Regions from separate parts of the Homo sapiens genome. Here region 2 is linked to region 1. The links are contacts of gene promoters, found by promoter capture Hi-C in human tissues and cell types (Jung and others, 2019). All regions are on one chromosome and are shown on one strand. The core of a region is centred on a gene start or on the middle of the fragment in contact, and the rest is flanking DNA. Distances in the headings are between cores, read along the strand shown.

Region 1 (5,380 bases), core at 1,081-3,580:
CTCTGATGGGCTACTGTTACTTGCCAACATGTTTTGGTGTGATGATAGAGAACAAACCAGAAACAGAACTTACACAACTCCAAGTAATCATTTAGCCTCAGTAACTCTCAGTTCCTAGTCTCTGAAATGAGGGTAAAATAATTCTAGATATTTACATCAATCCTGTATTTGAAGATGAATAATTATTGTGACAAATATTACTAGAAAGCCTCAAAAATCACATAAAATCCTTTAGTACAAGAGCTGTCTTTTATATAATTTCATGCTGCCACCTGAACTGTTCAGAAGCAAACGGATTGTCCACTCATACAGTTGTTGTTCTAAACACCTTTGACATGTAGCTTAATGGGGTTTGAAGAATAGTATATTGCAAACAATTAGAGGTTTCCTTTGTGAGATATTAACTGGTTCAACAGACAGAAAATCAACTTCACTATCAACCCTCTTCTACCATAAAAATCAGCCAATTTGCACATTTTTTCTGCTAAAGGTGGTCTTAAAATATGACTTATTTTATTGACATATTTACGTATTATGTATTCATGTATTATCCTACTACCACATATGCTAATAAATTATACCTGTACATATAATCTGTGGGTCTCTATGTCTGCATACACACCTGCACACCCTTTTACCAATAATATTTCTGCTTCTTGTGTGTTCCAGTTTCACTGCCTTGGACATGTTATGTAACTTCTGTTGTCTCTTCATCAGTCTGTTTTCTCTGTCTTAATTGGGAAAATATGACACCACTTATTGAAGGATGAATTAAATAAAATAGTCTACAAAAGTACTTTGTAAACAGTAAAGGACTACACAGACACACAGAGCTAATATTTCCAATTAAATGTATAAGAAATTCATAATCTGACGAATGGACTATGAATCTAAAGCAGCTTTCTTCTCCCCCATTCTTACTTCATACGTGTTTAAAGAGCTCTATAAAAAGAAAATGTTCAGCCTCTTCTCACAAATTGGTAGCAATTCTTCATTTGGGGAAGGTCTTTTCCAGAAAGAAACTCAAATCTTTCCATCTTCCATGTGCAGAACATCTGTGCTAAAACCATTCCATGCACACTTCTTTGAAGCACTGGCTGCCTAAAGGAATACTTTTGATTTGGGCTTTATTTAAATGCCTGAACTTCTATTGGAGAAACAAAAGGTTTTCTAGTAAGAGCTCAGTTGGGAACAGGACCAACCTCCAGCCAGTTTAACTACTCAGAGGCCAAGCAGCCTGGCATTTCTTAGAGCTCTGTGCAATGGAAATCTCCCTGAGAACTTGCAGCACAGGCGAACAGCTGGTTTGGGAGGCTAGTGACCCTGGGTGCAATCACTGTGGTAATTAGATTTAATTTTCCTAATCCAACAGTGGCTGACTCCATCATGCCTATGTCTCCTATGTAGAAAATCATTACTCTCATTTAATGGTACTTTGACATGTTTCACATTTTTGTGGCTTAGTACCTTAACATTAGATATTACCTCTTTGTAACTATCAATCTAGCCATTCAAACAGCTATGTGTACTAAAGAGTTTAATTTGAAGGTTATCCAACTTCGGCAACTTTCCAGAAGGATCTTCGAACGTTAAGCAGACCTTGAATATCATTGTACACCCCTCTTCTGCAAGTCTTTTGTATGCTTGTATCAATTCATTTAGAACGATGGCATCAGTCATAAGTCATTGGCAAGCCTGAAGGGTTTGGGTTTTCAGTGTTTCTGCAAGCCCAGGGAAGCATGGCTTCATGCTACGACATCCTGGGGTCACTCCAAAAGAGTAACAGAGATCATGGGGCTACGTGAAAGCGTGTCTTCCTGGGAGGAGAGAAGGAAAGACATGTATGAATCTATCCATGTCTGCTTGCATCTGGAGAACGCCTGTTTATGTTGTAAAGAAAAGCCATCGGTATTGTCATCTCAGGAGACCGGCTTGTTTTATGTGTGTGCATGTTATACGTGCTATCACACGAAGCTGGCCAACTGATAGAGTGACGAGGTACTGTGTCCCTGGGAATTGTAATTGCTTGGTCGGTGAAAAAAAAAGAACATCAGACCATTGCTGATAATAGCACAAGGTGCATTTTGATAGTACAAAAGAGGAAACAGACGGAGTCATACAAGTTCTGAGTATATCTTAAACCCCCTCCAACAAAAAAAAGAAAGAAAGAAAGAAAGAAAGAAAGCAAGGGAAAGCCTGGGGCTGAAGGAGTGTTCCAGGGAGCGAATTGCTCAGGACTTCAAACACTGGGAGTCATTCTGTCAAGGGGAGGGGGCGGGCGGGGGCAGGCACTGGGCCTCTTTAACAAAGTCCTCCTCTCTTTGCTCCCTCCCACTTCATTCACTTGCAAATCAGTGTGTGCCCACAAGAGCCAGCTCTCCCGAGCCCGTAACCTTCGCATCCCAAGAGCTGCAGTTTCAGCCGCGACAGCAAGAACGGCAGAGCCGGCGACCGCGGCGGCGGCGGCGGCGGAGGCAGGAGCAGCCTGGGCGGGTCGCAGGGTCTCCGCGGGCGCAGGAAGGCGAGCAGAGGTGGGTTCGGGCTCCGTTGGCTATGCATACATCTCCCTTTTTTTTTTTTTAATTCTGTAGCGTTGATAGAAGCCAATCAGAGAGAGAGCCCTCTCCGCCCGGTGGGTGCCGCGCCGGAGTTGGGAGGGATGCTCTCAGCCTGCGAGCCCGGGTCGGGGCGGGCGCGCGGGTCCGGCTGCGCGGGCGGCGCTGCTGCCGCTGCTCAGGACCGACGCCGCTTCCCGGGGAGCCTGGGCACCGCTCCTCCGCCTCCTGGTAAGACCGATCCGCCGTGGGGCTGGGTGGGGGCACCGGGAAGCGGGCCGCCGCAGAAGAACCCGCTGCCTTTCTCTACGCCGGCAGAGGCTGCCAGGGGAGCTCTGGCATTTGCAAAGTTGGCTGGTCAATTACCAAAGGGCGCTGGTGCGTGCAGGTCCCGCCGAGCCGTTTGGGGCTTGATTTATCTCCACCTGCCCGCATCATAAGGGTCTGCGTGGTGACTGCTTGGGCTGAGTTACATTTCTTAGCTTTTGGGGTAAAGCAGAAAATCAGGTAGTCTGAAAACTCTGGAATGCTCCCAGTAAGGAAAACTTAAACTAAAGAGACGATTTGGCTGGTAGAAGGAGCTAAAGAAAACTGTTAGCTTGCACGTTCCGGGCAACGCCTGCCGGCTCATCTAGGACAGAAATGCTTAGGTTGCAAGGAAAGTCCAACACTGGACTCCGAAAATGGAGCACACTGTCCAGGGAAAAGTCATATGGAAGGCGCAGTTCGCTCGTGCTCCTCCACGGCTGGCCAGGCTCAAATCTGGGGGATAAAGCCTTCCCCGGACTGATTGGAGAGTGGTTGGAGTGCGCTTGGTTTTCGGTGCCAGATGCTGGAAAATTGGAGCCCCCAATGCGTTAATCCCAGAATTTAATAAAAAGGGACGCTGCAATGTTGTGGACTGCAGCAGTTGCAGAGCTGAGATTACTTCTTCCGTAGTTAGATATTCTGTCATGAGTTACCGTAGATCTCGAGATGGGAGATGCTGGAGAGGTCAGCGTGGTGCTAAGAAGTGTCACTGCTGCAATAAAATCCATATTTTATGGGGAGTTAAATGCAGGTCTCTGTCAGTGCAAAGGGCTGGCCACCTGAGTTAACTATGACTCAGAACATTCAAGAACCAAGAAGTTTAATCATCTGGAATAGCCACACATTTCTGTCTCCTACTCCCATTAAAAAAAAAAAAAATTTAAATGATGATAGTCATACTATAGAGGTGTATCAGACCGTGTCTCTGCGAATCTTCACTTTCACTTCGTAAAGCACACAGTGGGAAAGAAGGAAGAGGTTTTCCCTGCAAGAATGTTGCAGGAGTGGCTGTTGTGTACATATATGGCTGCTCTGGAGGGGTGCAGATCAAAATGTGGGCTTTCTGAGTGGTTAATTATCCAGGGGGTTGCAAACTCCTCCCTGTGTTGGAAAAAGGAACCCAGGGATATGCCTAGTTAATGTACAACTCTTCCAAGAAGGACTAACAAATATGCTTATATGAATAGTGCCAAGGGTTGCTTATTTCCTTTCTTTTCTTGCTGAAAGCTTTACCTGAAAAGGAAAACCCTTAGGATTTTACTTTGAGAGAGAGAAAAAAAATCTCTTCCAGTTTCACCTGAGACTTGAGCATCATCCCGTGTGTAATAGTACTTGCACGGCTCTATGCTTGCATTTTAGAGAACCGTAAAACCAGTTGTGTGAAGAAAGGGGTATGCTTGAGCAGATGTCTTCATTATGTCATAACCAGGAGGGTAAAGTTTATGCCAGAGGCCAGATTGTCAATGCAGAGCTCAGAAACTTAAAAGAAACCCAACAATTGACTGGAAAATGCAATCACATAGGGTTGTATCTCATCCCCTTTTGCTCTTTGATGTGTTCTAATTAAAAAGGTACTGAAGGAAAATAAAAGACAGATCTTTTCCCACCTAATGTAATGGTTCATGCCATACTTTTGAAGCAGAGGAAGTAACCAATTTCTTCAGAAAAACTAAGAGGCAGCAGCCCAATTTTGAAGGAAAATGGTGCCAATTCAGTTCTACTGTATTTGTGTCTACAATTATCTTTTGCTACCATTACAAGAAAGTGACAGTTTGGTATCTCCATAGGGACTTTTAGTCCCTTTACTATCTGGCTTTTACACCAATTTATTGCACTTACATTTTGTACTGCTAACTCTGCAAAGATAATATATGGAAACATAATCATTTTCTACCAAGTTGCCTACTATCAAAAAACGTGTACCCTACCTCTTCCACCCACCACTTCCATCAGCTTTGCAAGGAAAAACTTAGTGAGGCACTCTTCCTTTTTAAGAAAAAATGTACCTTGCAAAATACTGCTCGAGACACTTGAAAACAGCTAAAAATTTTCTAGAAAGCACAGCTACAGTCACAGGGTATTATATGATACTGTATTATTATAGCACCAAATCTGAAAATTAGGACTAATTGAGTGAATGTCCCACAGAGATTTCTTTAAAAGGAATGAAATGTGACCAATATTCTGAGTGAAACTACAATCTTCCTAAGGAATTGAAATGTGTGGTCCCCCCTTCTGGCCCGGTAGTTGCTTTGCAGTCACGAATGCCAACACACTAAGGCTGAATCCTTTGAACTATTCAAACTTTTTTTAGTTGGAAGGGACCTCTAGTGGGTCACTCCATGCATTTCTCCCTGGAGTTCAGCTGCAGAATGGATTTTGTTACCTAAGATAAGAGTATAACAACTTTTTCTCTGTAGACAAGTTAGTATTCTCTAAGCACTATCTTAATATTTGTGACAGGTCAAATCATTATTGCTATTATTTCTGTACTTCCTCTAATTTAGGGGACTTAC
Region 2 (5,896 bases), core at 3,071-5,570, 37 kb after region 1:
CCCAAAGTGCTGGGATCACAGGCATGAGCCACTGCGCCCGGCCCAGAGTACTTATTTCTGATGGCATACAAGTGATCATCTCTTCAAGTAATCAGCCGCTTTCTTTTCTTGGAAGAGGAACCCAGGGCACAGAGAGGTTGTGCGACTTGGCCATGTTCACACAGCATATTAGGGAAGTTCACAACCAGAGTGCAGTTCTCCTACTTCTTGTCCCTTTTTGCCTCCTCTCCCAGGGTCCCCACCTCCTTCCTACCAACACGAGAAGAAAACGGTCAGTTCAAACTCCTCTTGAACATGAAATGCTTTTACAAACTAGGAACACAAATTCGTCGTTTTTGCTATTTTCAGAAACTGTTTGGGACTGCAAATACGTTGTGAAAAACTAGGCTTTTGAAGATGAGACAGTGAAATCCCACTATCCTCATTATTATGCAATCAAATCACTCTGTGAGACTAATTAAGGATTTTGAAGTATGTTGTGTTTCTCAGAATCAAATGTGAAGAAAGGTGGTCTCATGGCTTTCATAAGAAAGGGCTGAGCCTGTTCCAACCATATAAGGGCAAAGCCTGAAAATGACCCATCCCTGGAAGCTGCTCAGCTTCTCCTAGCACCACACATCGGGTTACAGCAGACACACTCCTCTTAAAACAGGGCTCCTCAAACTCCAAAGCACACAAATCTCCCTGCCTAGCTGATGCTCGGAAAGAAGAGTGGAGGTATCTCCTCACCCTATCCCACTTCACCCCCTTTCTGAAACTAAGTTGGGCGAGAGACAAGGAAAGGAACGTACGGCGGGAAAGCACCTCCGCCCGTCAAACCACATTCTCCCAAACCCTCCTCACCCTCTCCTCCACTCCACGGTGGACGTGGAAGACAATCTACTTGGGCTTTGGGATACTTTACATATTTTCATTATGTACCCTTTCAACTGATATTTTTTATTTGCCCAGTCCCATATACTGTATACAAGTATAGAAGTACATTAATATAATAAGCATAATATAATAAATAAACAAGCATATACATTTTGAAGTTATTTGCTTTATAGTTTTTGGGAGTTCAGAAGAGAAATATTTCCTGGCTTTTTCCCAGCGTTCTAGAATAGAATGTACACCTCCCCCTCCCTAGCAGTGCATCAGAGGCAAACACCCTAGTTCTTCAACCTCTTCCTAAAACCTCACAGATCAAGGCTTCTGCCAAGGTTCCTCCAGAATTTACATCCTTTTGGCCTCCAACTCCAATTTTATTCTGTAAAGAATCAAATATAGCTTCCCTGTCAGCCACAAGCTGTGGCCGTGCTTCTCAGATATTCCCTGCTCATCAACATGCCCAGTCTCCATGCTCCATCCCACCTCCTGAGGGAACGGACCCCTACCTTAACCATCCTACATCTAAACAAACGAAGCTTAAGAAACCCAGAAAAGACAAGGAACCAGTATTAGTTGCTTCTTGCTGCTGCAACGCACACCACAAAACACATTACCACAAAACAATACAAACTTATTCTCGTACAGATTTATAGGTCAGAGGTCAGAGGTGATTACAGTGGGCTAAAAATCAGCCTGTCGGTGTGCTTGTGTTCTTTCTACAGGCTCTAGAGGAGAAGCCACTTCCTTACCATCCCCAGCTTCCAGAGGTCACCTGTTTTCTTGGCCCCTTCCGCCATTTTCAAAGCCAACAGTGTAGCATGTTTAAATCTCTCTCTCTTTGTCTCGGACTCATGCCTCACTGTCCCATCTTCTCTGACCCACCTGCCTCCCTCTTTTAAGGTCTAAGGACCTTTGTGGTTATATTGGACCCACCCAGATGATCCAGGATAATCTCCACAGCTCAAGATCCTTAACCATATCTGCGGTCTCTTTTGCCATGTGAGGTATTAATAACATAGTTCTGTGGATTGGGACGTGGGCATATTTGGAAGGCCTTTGTTCTGCCTGCTGCAGATCCCCAGTGCCAAGGTTCAGGAAGTGAATCAGCTGGAGAAGGAAGCTGCATTCACCTTGATTCCAAACTTTGTGGAATGGAGAAAAGTATGTCCCAGGGTCAGACACCCATGGACTCCCACCCCAGCTTTGCCAATAACCCAGTTGTACAATCCTAGGCAGTGGTCCCCAACCTTTTTGGCACTAGGAACTGGTTTTGTGGAAGAAAATTTTTCCACAGATGTGGTGGGGTGAGCAGAGGATATGGTTTCAGGATGAAACTGTCCCACCTCAGATCATCATGCGTTAGCTACATACTCATAAGGAGCACGCAACCTGCATCCCTCACATGCGCAGTTCACAATAGGGTTCGCCCTCCTATGAGAATCTAATGCCTCTAATACAGGAGGCGGAGCTCAGGCTACAATGCTGGTTCACCTGCCACTCACCTCCTGCTGTGTGGCCGGGTTCCTAACAGGCTGCAGACTGGTACTGGTCCATGGCCCCAGAGGTTGGGGAACCCCTGATCTTAGGCATGTTATTTGATCTCTCCAAGATTTATTTCCTTTCCTGTAATGTGGGGAAAATAATGCATCTCTCATAGGGCATAAAAAGTACAAAAGTACCTTATATAATGATAGACTCTTAGTAGATGTTCAATACAGGTTAGTTCTTTCTCCATTCTGACACTGACAGGTCTAATTACCCGTCATACTAACTAGCACTTGCGTGCCATTTCCAAGGGTACCAACTGCCCAAACTATATCATTTTATTTAATCTACAACACAGCCCTCAAGCTCTACCCGATTCTCCAAAACCTGAGTCCGATCAAGGTGAAGAGACTCAGTCAGTGATAAAGGAAGAAAGGGCAAAACAAAGACTGCAAGCCTACTGGTTTGACTCCAAATCTGGTGCTTTACTACCCTGGCTAACAGACCTCTTGTTATCCAGTTCTGGTCACCATACTGGTTAGAAATTAAATGTTTGGCCAAAATAGATTGGAGGGTAGGAAATGAAGCATATTGCCTGTTATCTTTGTGAAGTTTGCAGAAAAGCAAAACAGAATGAGGAACTGGAGGCTCAGGAAAATATTTTCTCTCTGGAGCTGTTAGGCATTTGTAACAAGTTGTTAAGGCAGCTTGGCTCTTACGACTGTATGGCTGGTGCCAATTTGGAAGCTTTTATAGGTCTCTAGTTCCCCTGATATTATTGGCTAAACCAATAAGTGGTTAATTTTTTTATGTAAAAAGAATTCTAACTCTGAAAACACTTGTGAGAATTCAAGAAACTCCGGAGTCCCACCTAAGGATTTTTTAGTGAAAGAATGAATTATGACAAAGAGAAATGCAATTGTGGACCATCATAGTAGCTGAATAAACATTTCTCAGTACTTAATGTCACAGAACATAGGAAGAAGTTTTGTGTTTTTGTTGTTGTTGCTCTTAATTGGGATTATTAAGGAGCAGCATAATTACGGGCTGAGGCTTTTTGCCCTTGGTGACGTAAGGGACTTTGCTCTCCATTCTCCTGGCTGGTGATTATCAGGCCAGTGACTTGGATCCTGGTATGACAATTAAGATTGAGTAGTGTCATCTGTTTCATAATTAAATTCTATCTTCCATATCCTTTGAATGCTGTATGGGCGTTTAATTGGCGGATGCTATTTCTGCTGCCACTGTGGCGTGTCTGAACAACAAAGTCAAAATAACAGTGATTCCGCTCCTTGCAGAATATCCCAGTTGAAGAGAATTTGCTTTCTCTTTGGCACAGAAAGAGCCCTGAAGTCCCAATTTAGACACAGCAGTTAAGAAGTTGAGGGCCTCTGAATTCCTGCAGGTTCTCACTCAAGGTGATATTTAGGGTCTACCATTGCAAATTAAAAGATCAACTTAACTTGCATGGGAGAAAAGTCATCTCTGTCCTGTAGATGACTTCTCCAAAGACATAGAGAACTCACTAGGGGATCATACACAGGTTTGTCTGTATAACCATCACAGGCAGAGAATATCTTTTTTTAAAAGTCTGGCTCATTTTCCTTCACTTACTAGAAAAAGAGTCTCTGAGAGTATGTATTAAAGTATTTATGTTAAACACCGTTAAAATACACTTCCAGTGTATTTATTAACAGAGAATTCAGAAGCATTAGGCCTCCTCTACAGATGTATCTTCCTGTTGCATCTTTAAGAAAGCAGCGGAAGATGTTTAAGACCATGAGTAATGTACTCAGTGAAAAATGAGAAAAGAAACTTATAGGCAAAGCAAAGAGAAACAAATCCTCCGTGCAAAAATGAAAATGCTATTTTTTTAAAAACTAACCTATGATTTAGAAACCATCTGCAGAATAATCTTGATTGTGTCCTCAAGTAGAACAACAAATCCATTGAGTTTAATCAAACTCAAAATAATTCTAAAGAGAAATTAGAGATGTATACAAAAGAAGCTAAACAATACAGTATAGCATCCAGGTAAAAATATTATATGCTAATTAATAAACAATTGTAGGGGACTTCATGAACTGTGAATGAAAAGATTAGTGTGAATCTTTATGCAAAATGCTTAAATCCATGTTAAGACGAACAAACTCTTTAAAATGTAAAACCTACACATATAAAAATATGCAGGAAACACAATATGCTCTTTTAAATATTCTTCTAATCACATGATTATATTTTAATTATAGTTTTCATTTGTTGAAAGTATATTCAAATGCAATATTTTTCTTTTCTTCTGGATAACAGTCTTCACTGCCTTATTTTCATCTTAGGGTGATTCAGCCTATAATGATTTAGAGGCCAAATGTTCAAACTCTTTTTAACAGATTACTCACGATGCAATTAAAATTAAATTATGTGCATAAAATTGATATTTTAATCAAATCATTGCGTATCTCCATAGTGGTTTAGCAATAAGGAGAAAAAGACTGGCCTGAAATTCCCAGGATTTTGTCTTCCTTGCCCTTTGGGAATTTCTTTCCTTTTTAGTATCCTTAACAGATTACTGTTTGGCGGGGTCAGAATTCCCATGAATCATATTTAAAGCAGTTCCAGCTTATTTTGAATATTTCATGGACGCTTCCTGTCTCAGTCCATTTTCTGTTGCTCGTAACAGAATGCCTGAAACTGGGTAATTTATAAAGAAAAGGAATTTATTTCTACAATTTGGAGAGCTGAGAAGTCCAAGGTCAAGGGGACATATCTGGTGAGGGCTTTCTTGCTGGTAGAGACTCTATGCAGAGTCCCAAGGTGGCACAGGCCACCACATGGCAAGGAGGCTGAGTGTGCTAGCTCAGATCTTTCTTCCTCTTCTTATAAAGCCTCCAGCTTTACTCCCCATGATAACTCACTAATTCATTAACCCACTATTTCATTAATCCATTAATCCATGCATGAACCTCTTAAAGGTCCCACGTCTCAATAATGCCACACTGGGGATTAAATTTCAACATAAGTTTTGGAGGGGATAAATATTCAAACCATAGCACTTCCTCTGTAGCTCAGCCTCTAACATAAAGAGATAAAAGGGCATTACCATGTCCAGTTTTAGACCTTTGCTCTTAGAAGAAAAATATTCACTTAAGGAGTAGAGTAAGCCTACTATAATTATGTTTCTTTTCAAATCACCCTGATTTGTTTCTCTTGTTCTGCAGGAATTATTTTGTATCTTCCCATTCTTGACCTCTATGTCAAGTGACTGTTTCAGACTTCACAACTTAGGCATCACCATTTAGCTTCTACTTCTGGTCTTACACTACTTTGTTTCTCACTCTTTAATTAGAAATGGTTAATTTGACTTCATGTCTTAAGGCAAGGAGAAAATGAGTCTTAAACAGTATTAAGCTCCCATAAATATTTCACTTTATGCTAATTCCTGTGCTTCCAGCTGAGCCGTTTGAAGTTCTCAAAAAAGTGTTTCTGTTCCCCTCAATTAAATACATAACTGGAAAACAGTAAAATAATTATCAGTTTTACTACC

Evidence for each region. Contacts are between HindIII fragments. The study calls those that stand out against the background at their distance.
Region 2: a fragment that was not itself captured here is called in contact with the fragment with the promoter of CDH6 in region 1 in 1 of the 25 tissues and cell types used here (aorta).

Annotation. Positions count from the first base shown.
Region 1 is chr5:31,191,356-31,196,735 of GRCh38, forward strand. It overlaps CDH6 (cadherin 6), which reads left to right and starts at 2,331. Exons shown (of 12, transcript NM_004932.4): 1 at 2,331-2,531. The HindIII fragment of the contact is 7,217 bases long and covers 1-5,380 here.
Region 2 is chr5:31,226,432-31,232,327 of GRCh38, forward strand. The region is part of intron 1 of CDH6 (cadherin 6); the gene reads left to right. Among named protein-coding and RNA genes, the nearest start is that of CDH6, 36 kb to the left of the region's middle. The HindIII fragment of the contact is 4,132 bases long and covers 2,255-5,896 here.